Linked DNA regions of Homo sapiens: regions 1 and 3 are each linked to region 2. Evidence: promoter capture Hi-C in 16 types of primary human blood cells and fetal thymus (Javierre and others, 2016). All regions are on one chromosome and are shown on one strand. Each heading gives the region's core, a stretch centred on a gene start or on the middle of the fragment in contact. The rest is flanking DNA. Distances are from core to core; before and after follow the strand shown. Region 1 overlaps USP14 (ubiquitin specific peptidase 14). Region 2 holds the start of ADNP2 (ADNP homeobox 2). Region 3 has its middle 9.7 kb from the start of USP14.

Region 1 (2,700 bases), core at 150-2,649, about 80 Mb after region 2:
AGCCTGGGCAATAAGAGTGAGACTCTGTCTCAAAAAAAAAAAAAAAAAAAAGAGAGAAAAATCAATTGTATTTTTACATTCTAGCCATGAACACTGGAAATATTTTTTAATATTATTTTAAGCAGCGAACAAATGTTAAGTTCCAATAATTTAAGAGAAGTCATGCAAGGGCTGGGCACAGTGACTCACACCTGTTAATCCCAGCACTTTGGGAGGCCAAGGCAGGAGGATCGCTTGAGCCCTGGAGTTCAAGACCAGCCTGGGCAACATAGTGACACCCCCATCTCTACAAAAAATAATTAAAATTAATTAATTAACTGGGCATGGTAACACCCGCCTGTGGTCCCAGCTACTTGGAAGGCTGAGATGGAAGGACTGCTTGAGGCTGGGAGTTTAAAGCTGCAGCGAGCCATGACCATGCCACTGTGCTCCGGCATACGTGAGAGTGAGACCCTGTCTCAAAAAAAAAACCACTCATGCAAAACCTCTATGTTTAAAAACTACAACTCTGCTAAGAGAAAAACAGAGACCTAAATAAATAAGGAAGTACATCATATTCAGGGATTTTAATACTCAATATTGTTAAGATGTTTATTCTCCCCAAATTGAGCTACAGATTCAATGTAATCTCAAACAAAATCTCAAAGAGGAGAAAGTTGGAGAGCATAAGAACATATACTATCTTATTTCAAGACTCTTTTTTTGGAGACGGAGTCTCGCTCTGTTGCCAGGCTGGAGTGCAGTGGCACGATCTCGGCTCACTGCAATCTCCGCCTCCCAGGTTCAAGTGATTCTCCTGCCTCCTGCCTCTGCCTCCCGCCTCAGCCTCCCACCTCAGCCTCCCGAGTAGCTAGGATTACAGGCGTGCACCACCACACCCAGCTAATTTTTTTTTCAAGGCTTTTATTATAAAGCTTTAGTAATCAAAACCATTTGGTACTAGTGTAACTTTAATCTACTAGATCAATGAAACAAAAACCCAAAAACAAACCTATAACTACTTTTCAAGAAAGAGCCCAACACAAGTCAATGGGAAAAGGTAAGTATTTTCAACAGATAGTGCTGGAACAACTGGATATACACATGAAAAAAAGTCATCTGGAATGTATTTTGGTATCATAATGAGGTTACTGCATTATAATAAACGTTCATAAGATAATACTTACATTTTTTATTTTGATGTTTCCCCAATCATCATCCTGTTTCAAAGACAAACAAAAGACATTTAACCACCACTGTACAAGCTGAACACAATCTAATAATCAATTTATTTTAATGTACTTCAAAACAGAATAAAATTTATCCTATATGCAGATTTTATTTAAAATTATGGCAATTAAAAAAATTTTTTTTGGCCAGGCACAGTGGCTCACGCCTGTAATCCCAGCACTTTGGGAGGCTGAGGCAGGCAAATCACCTGCGGTCAGGAGTTCGAAACCAGCCGGACCAATATAAAGAAACTCCATCTCTACTAAAAATACAAAAAGTAGCTGAGCATGGTGGTGCACACCTGTAATTCCAGCTACTCGGGAGGCTGAGACAAGATAATTGCTTGAACCCAGGAGGCAGAGGTTACAGTGAGCCGAGATCTCACCACTGCACTCCAGCCTGGGCAACAGAACAAGGCTCCATCTCAAAAAAAAACAAAAATTTTTTTTAAACACAAGTGGTACTAAAGCCAGGGTTTCAAATAATTTGCTTCAACTGCATAAGGTAACACAATACAAAAGGCAGTAACCTGTATTTACAGCATCAAATACTAAAAAACACATAAGTATAAAAAAATACTTTTAGCAAGTACTAAAAAACACTTGACTAATGACAAATGATAGATCCTATTTTTTGGATGTTTGGAACCAGCAGAGCTAATAAATAACAAGCTTACGTGGCAAGAATGAAGAGTTAATGTCTATAACGCATCTATAAAGCAAGTATATACTTTCCTTTCAATATGTTGAATAAAAATCAAGAATTTTTTTTTTAAATGCATGATTAGTCCAGAGTAATATTTTTACTAACTACAGCTAGGCCTTTCCCCTCATAGGATAAAGTCGATTCTATATTACTCCCTTTTATAGAAGGTATCGGGTACCCAATATGCTTGTCTACCCTTCATTGGTGCCACTAATTATCTCTTTTATCTGCTTTAAAATGGAACGGTAACTTCCTAAAGGCCCTTCTCAATTTAAGGTCTATGACTGCTAAACATAATGAATGATAACTATAAATGCCCCCTAAGATCACTTACCCAAGGTCACACAAAACTGGGAAGTGAACACAGATCTGCTTGATGTATAAATCATATGCTCTTTTGGTGCCTTACTATGTTACTTAAACCTCTTTGACACTCATTTATAAAATTTCCTCATATATAAGATATGGATAACATACAGCTGAGAATTAAAGAAAATATAATAAAAGCCTGACATAAAATAAGTACTCAATAAATGGTAACCATTAGCAGTCACAGTTTCATTTAATTCGCATACTTCTATAATTCTCGACAGCATACCACTAGTACAGTGTTCAGCATAGATTAGGCTATGAAGTTCACTAAAGGCCAAAGGTTCATACTGTACCTTCGGGGGTAAACAAAGATTTTCCTCCAACGTGTGTTTTACTGCCCAGTGGGGGTAGCCTGTCTTTATCTCTAAAGTTAACTATAGATCTTTAGCATTTTATCTAACCCTTGAAGGAAGT
Region 2 (2,700 bases), core at 129-2,628:
CCAAATACAGCTGAACATGTACTTTACACAACTCTTTTTACATGTGGTCCTCTCTCCCACTAATGCTCCTCACCCCCAAAAATGGTACCCAGACTCCAAACCCCCTCTTTTGATAAAGGCTCTGCGTGGCAGATGCCCACAGTACTCTACAAACTGCTGCCCCACTTGCCAATCTGCATTGTCAGTTACCTGCTTACCAGTTTCTCCTCCCCCACCCCACTCCTCCACAGCCAGTATATTCCTCAAGATCCCAAGAGGCAGTGATTACCCGTGCAAATAGAGTAAGTTTTAAGCACGCAGGCAAGTCTTCTGTTCAAATAAACTACTTAAAATATCTAATTATTTCTCATTCTGCATCTGTACAGTATTTAAAAGGGCAGTTAAAATTAACATTCCAAAGTCAACTGTAGTAGAAATTTTGTAAACGGAATCTATTTCAATGCAACCAGCAACGGCAGATGAAAAGTAATGTTAAAGTCAACATCTGTATATCAATTATTGATATTCGCATCAAAAGCTCAACGATGAAGAAACAGGGCCCCGTTATCAGCTGTTCTTCAAACCTTTCTAGGGAAAAAAAAACCTGGGCAGATTTAGGTGTCACCGTCAGCTCCTGACCTACATCTGCCGTCACTCAAGGCTCCTCCAGAGAGAAGCTTCCAGGAGAACCCGGTCTCGGGGATGCGGCGGGCGGGCCAGCGGGCGGGGCGTTTCTGGAGTCCTTACAGGGGTCGCCACAGCTCCTTGCCCCCTCTCTTCTTCTCCATCCCCGTTCCCTCTCCCTCTACTCCTCGCTCCCTTCACCAGCCCCCCTCTCTCCCTCGGTCCCCGTCCTCGTCTTTCCCCTATTCCTACTCTCCCCTCAGGTCCCCATCCCCTTCTCCGCCCTCCCGGGGCGGCCCCCGCTCCCACGTGACCGGCGGCGGGCGGGGCGGGCCGCGGGCGCGTCGGGGGTCGACGGGCGCCGTTCGGGCCGCGAACCCGCGCCCTGAGAACGTCCCGGGATTCCCGAGGCGGCCACGGGCGGCGCGAGGGCAGGCGGCGGGCGTGGGTGTGGGCTGGGTACCGGCGGGGGCGGGGCTCGGAGGGGACCAGACTGGGGCGGGGGCCAGGACCGGGGCAGGGGGCGTCGCCGCGCGGGCCCGCGCCGGGCCGGGCCGTACCTACCGCTTGGCGCCCGAGGAGCACCGCGTCTCCGCTGCTGCCTCTCGCAGGGCTGCCGCGTCTTCCGCCGAGCGCAGCCGCGTCCCGTGGGGCCGCCTGCGCCCGCCCGCGCCTCCGCCCCGCGCGGCGGGACCCCCGCCTCAGCGCGCGCCCACCCCCAGCGCGACTGGTCCCCTCCTCCCGCGCAGCCAGAAAGAGAAAATGGCGCTCGATTGGCCTCAGGAAGTGACGTTGGCCCTCATTTGCATGTAGGCGCAGCCAGCCAATGAGAGCAGAGTGTGCTTGGGGGCCCCTGGCACTTCCCACAGGCCCCCCGGGGCCCCTGGCTAAAGATGGACTGGAGGCTCTGGGGTGGCAGTGGGGGGCCCCTGTTGGACCCCCTGACTCCCTTCTGTCCCAGGGAACTGCCCTGCCAGCTCCTTTCCACATCTGTGCAAACTCTCGTGAGAGTTTGAGTGGGCAATGACGTCACTAAAGGGGTGGGGAGAGTGTGTCATCAACCATGTGACTAATCACGTGGACTCACCACAGCTTTGACTTCATTTGCATGGAATGGGGTGGAGCTAGTGGCAGCTCCAGGAGTGGTGACCCCGCCCACATCTCAGAGCCAATGGGAGCCCAACTGTGATAATGCTGCCTTGCCATTGGAAGACAAAACTTTGGCTCCCAGAACTGGGACAAGTGTGCCATGATTGGCATATCCTGGTGAACCGACTAGCTGGGGTCTCCTGACTTCATCATTCCTGTGGGAAAGTGATCACACCTTCTCTTGAGAATTCTGATTTTTAGATCTACTACAAGTTGTGTGGGGAGAGGGTTAATTGCATACATTTGTATAAACTCTTAACCTAAAAGTTCATTTTTGCACAGGTGTTTATCAATTGTGTAGCAATAATAATTTATTCCACAAAATTAGTGGAAACATGGCGTAGGGCTTTCAAAATGGCTCTAGGTCTTCGTTCCGTGGAGTCCCCAGGCCTCTGGCGGACGCCCTCGTGCCCCAGAGCACGTGGGAGTAACCACGAGGGCAGCGCAGGCGCCTCCCCCAGTGCCCCTAACCTTAACCCTAATTCTGACCCTGCACCTGAACCTCACCTAGCACTAACCCTGACTCTGACCCTAACTCCCCTCCAGTGTTCCTTCCCCTGACCCTAACTCAGCCGCGCCCTCAGTGGCTGTTCCAGGCAGTTCCTTCTTGGCGAAGCCGTCTGCAGGACACGTGCCCCTTTCAGCACAAGGCCACGTCTCCTTCCAGAGCGCCGAGCCCCTGCAACCCGCCGCCAGCCTCCAGCCCTGAGGCCCACTCCAGCCACCGCGGGGCAGAGGCCGTGCCCAGGCTGGGCCTTCCGCCCACCGCCCTCTCCAGAGCCTCCTTGTCACCATCCGCTCGTCCATAATTTCAGCTTTTCCCTCTCAATGGGAGCCTTCTGCTCAGTTTAGCCCAGTGACTAAACACATAATAGGCACTAAATTAATGTCCATATTCGTTTTAAAACTGTGTTAAATGGTGGGCCGATATGACCTGACCAAAATTTG
Region 3 (2,700 bases), core at 23-2,522, about 80 Mb after region 2:
AAAGCAAAACCTGGCTGGGCACAGTGGTTCACACCTATAATCCCAGCACTTTGGGAGGCCAATGCAGGTGAATTGCTTGAGCTCAGGAATTGAAGACCAGCCTGGGCAACGTGACAAAACTCTATCTCTACAAAATTACAAAAAAGTAGTCAAGTGTGGTGGCGGGTGCCTGTAGTCCCAGCTACTCAGGAGGCTGAAGTGGGAGAACTGCTTGAGCCCAGGAGGCAGAGGTTGCAGTGAGCCAAGATCGGACCACTGCACTCCAGCCTGGAGACAGAGCAAGACTCTGTAAAAACAAAAAACAAAAAACAAAAAAAAAAAAAAAGAAGAAGGAGGAGGAGGAGAAGAAGGAGGAGGAGGAGAAGAAAGTGGCTCACACCTGTAATCCTAGCACTTTGAGAGGCTGCGGTGGATCAGTTGAGCCCAGAAGCACAATACAAGCCTGGCCAACATGGGAAAGCCCCGTCTTTACAAAAAATAAAAAATTAGCTGGGTTTGGTGGTGCACACCTGTAGTTGCAGCTACTCTGGAGGCTGAAGTGGGAGGATAGATGAAGCCCGGGAGGTTAAAGCTGCAGTGGGTTGTGACTGCACCACTGTACTCCAGCCTGGGTGACAGAGCAAGACGCTGTCTCAAAAAAAAGCAAAATCCCAAAGCAATCAAATTCATCAATTCAACAATTATTTATTGACTGTCTACTTAGGGACCCGGCATTCCAGGAATTCACAGTCTATCAGAAAATGTAGAAAACAATTGCTGAGTGCGGTGGCTCACGCCTGTAATCCCAGCACTTTTGGAGGCTGAGGCGGGAGGATCACTGGAGCCGAGGACTTCGAAACCAGCCTGGGCAACATGGTGAAACCACATCTCTACAAAAAATACAAAAACTAGCTGGGCATGGTGGCACACGCCTATGGTCCCAGCTAGTTGAGGGCTGAGGTGGGAGAATTGCTTGAGCCCGGGAGGCAGAGGTTGCAGTGAGTCAAGATCATGCCGCTGCCCTCCAGCCTGGGTGACAGAGCGAGACCCTGTCTCAAAAAAAAAAAAATGTAGAAAAGTAGAAAAAATTATTAAAATATATAGCAACTATGCATGTGGGTGGTAGAAGGGAAACTAGAGCAGAATGGAGGACCTCTATGTGGGGCTGTGGTAATAGATAAGGTAGCTGGCAATATGGGACAAGATTACGAGAGCCTGAGTGCCAGGATTAAAAGACTAGTCTCAATTAGGTGGGGTTTTCTATCTTCTTAAAATTACTATTCCTCACAAAGAAGAAAAATAATATTGAAATGTCCGTGTAGACCGGGTGCAGTGGCTCATGCCTGCAATCCCAGCACTTTGGGAAGCCAAGGCGGGTGAATCACTTGAGGTCAGGAGTTCGAGACCAGCCTGGCCAACATGGTGAAACCCTCTCTCTACTAAACATACAAAAATTAGCCAGCGTTGTGGCGCTGGCCTGTAGTCCCAGCTACTAGGGAGGCTGAGGCAGGAAAATCGCTTGAACCCAGGAGGCGGAGGTTACAGTGAACTGAGACTGTGCTGCTGCACTCCAGCCTGGGCAACAAAGTGAGACCCTTTCTCAAAAAAAAAAAAAAGTCTGTGTACTCAACTGTTGCAGATGATCTCTTATTCCAAAGCAAAGCCCTAACCTGAATCAAAAAGCCTTACATAGGGCTCCCCATGAGTTAAGGCAGAAAGACCCCTTTAATGTTACCTACTTTTTAAAAAATTAGTAAAGCAATACCCATACGAGGTTTAAAATTCAAACAGTAACAGGAAAACATTTAAAGTAAAACAAAACTCTCCTATCTCATTCCACCTACAATCTCACTTCTCATCAGCAACTGACTTTAACTCTTTCTGATTTTAGCTCTCCTGGTGGTCACCTCTATAATTCTGAATAATATGCTTATAACTCTATTTAATTTATCAAGTGTAAGCAATATCTGTTGAACCCCAGTGTAAACAATGAGGATGTGGGTCAGTTATGCTGTATTTTGCCTCCCCTTCTTCCTCTTTCTTCTCAATTTTATTTTATTTTATTTTTTGGTTAGAGACAGGGTCTCACTCTGTCACCTAGGCTGGAGTGCAGTGGCCGGATCCTGGATCACCACAGGCTTGAACTCCTGGGCTTAAGTGATCCTCCTGCCTCAGCTTCCCAAGTAGCTGGGACCTCAGGCACGTGCCATCATGTCCAGCTAATTTTTTTATTTTCACTTTTTGTAGAGAGGGGATCTAACTATGTTGCCCAGGCTGGTCTTGAACTCCTGATCCAAATGATCTGCCTGTTTCATCCTTCCAAAGTGCTAGGATTATAGGTATGAGCTACCATGCCTGGTTCCCAATTTTTAATAATTAGGTTGTAGTTATTTTGTTGGTTACTTTTACTTTTTTTTTCTTTCTTTTTTTTTTTTTTTTTGAGACAGGGTCTCACTTTCTTGCCGAGCGTGATCACAGCTCACTGCAGCCTTGACCTTCTGGGCTCGGGTGATCCTTCCACTTCAGCCTCTTGAGTACCTGGGACTATAGGTGTGCACCACCACACCCAGCTTTTTTTTTTTTTTTTTTTTTTTTTGAGGCTGAGTCTCGCTCTGTTACCCAGGCTGGATGTAGTGGCGCGAGCTCTGCTCACTGCAAGCTCCGCCTCCCGGGTTCACGCCATTCTCCTGCCTCAGCCTCCCGAGTAGCTGGGACTACAGG

The links. The method cuts DNA at HindIII sites, captures the fragments that hold promoters and counts their contacts. A CHiCAGO score of 5 or more calls a contact.
Region 1: a contact is called between a fragment that was not itself captured here and the fragment with the promoter of ADNP2 in region 2, in 1 of 17 cell types (naive B cells). The highest score is 5.5, in naive B cells.
Region 3: a fragment that was not itself captured here is called in contact with the fragment with the promoter of ADNP2 in region 2 in 1 of 17 cell types (naive CD8 T cells); the score reaches 6.0 in naive CD8 T cells.

What each region holds. Positions count from the first base shown.
Region 1 is chr18:165,286-167,985 of GRCh38, reverse strand. USP14 (ubiquitin specific peptidase 14) reads right to left here. Exons shown (of 16, transcript NM_005151.4): 3 at 1,167-1,199. Among named protein-coding and RNA genes, the nearest start is that of USP14, 8.1 kb to the right of the region's middle. The HindIII fragment of the contact is 966 bases long and covers 917-1,882 here.
Region 2 is chr18:80,107,940-80,110,639 of GRCh38, reverse strand. It overlaps ADNP2 (ADNP homeobox 2), which reads right to left and starts at 1,378. Exons shown (of 4, transcript NM_014913.4): 1 at 1,168-1,378. RefSeq lists silencers at 857-956, 1,157-1,316 and enhancers at 1,126-1,627, 2,454-2,700. The HindIII fragment of the contact is 4,212 bases long and covers 659-2,700 here.
Region 3 is chr18:147,517-150,216 of GRCh38, reverse strand. No RefSeq gene overlaps it. Among named protein-coding and RNA genes, the nearest start is that of USP14, 9.7 kb to the left of the region's middle. The HindIII fragment of the contact is 5,883 bases long and covers 1-2,700 here.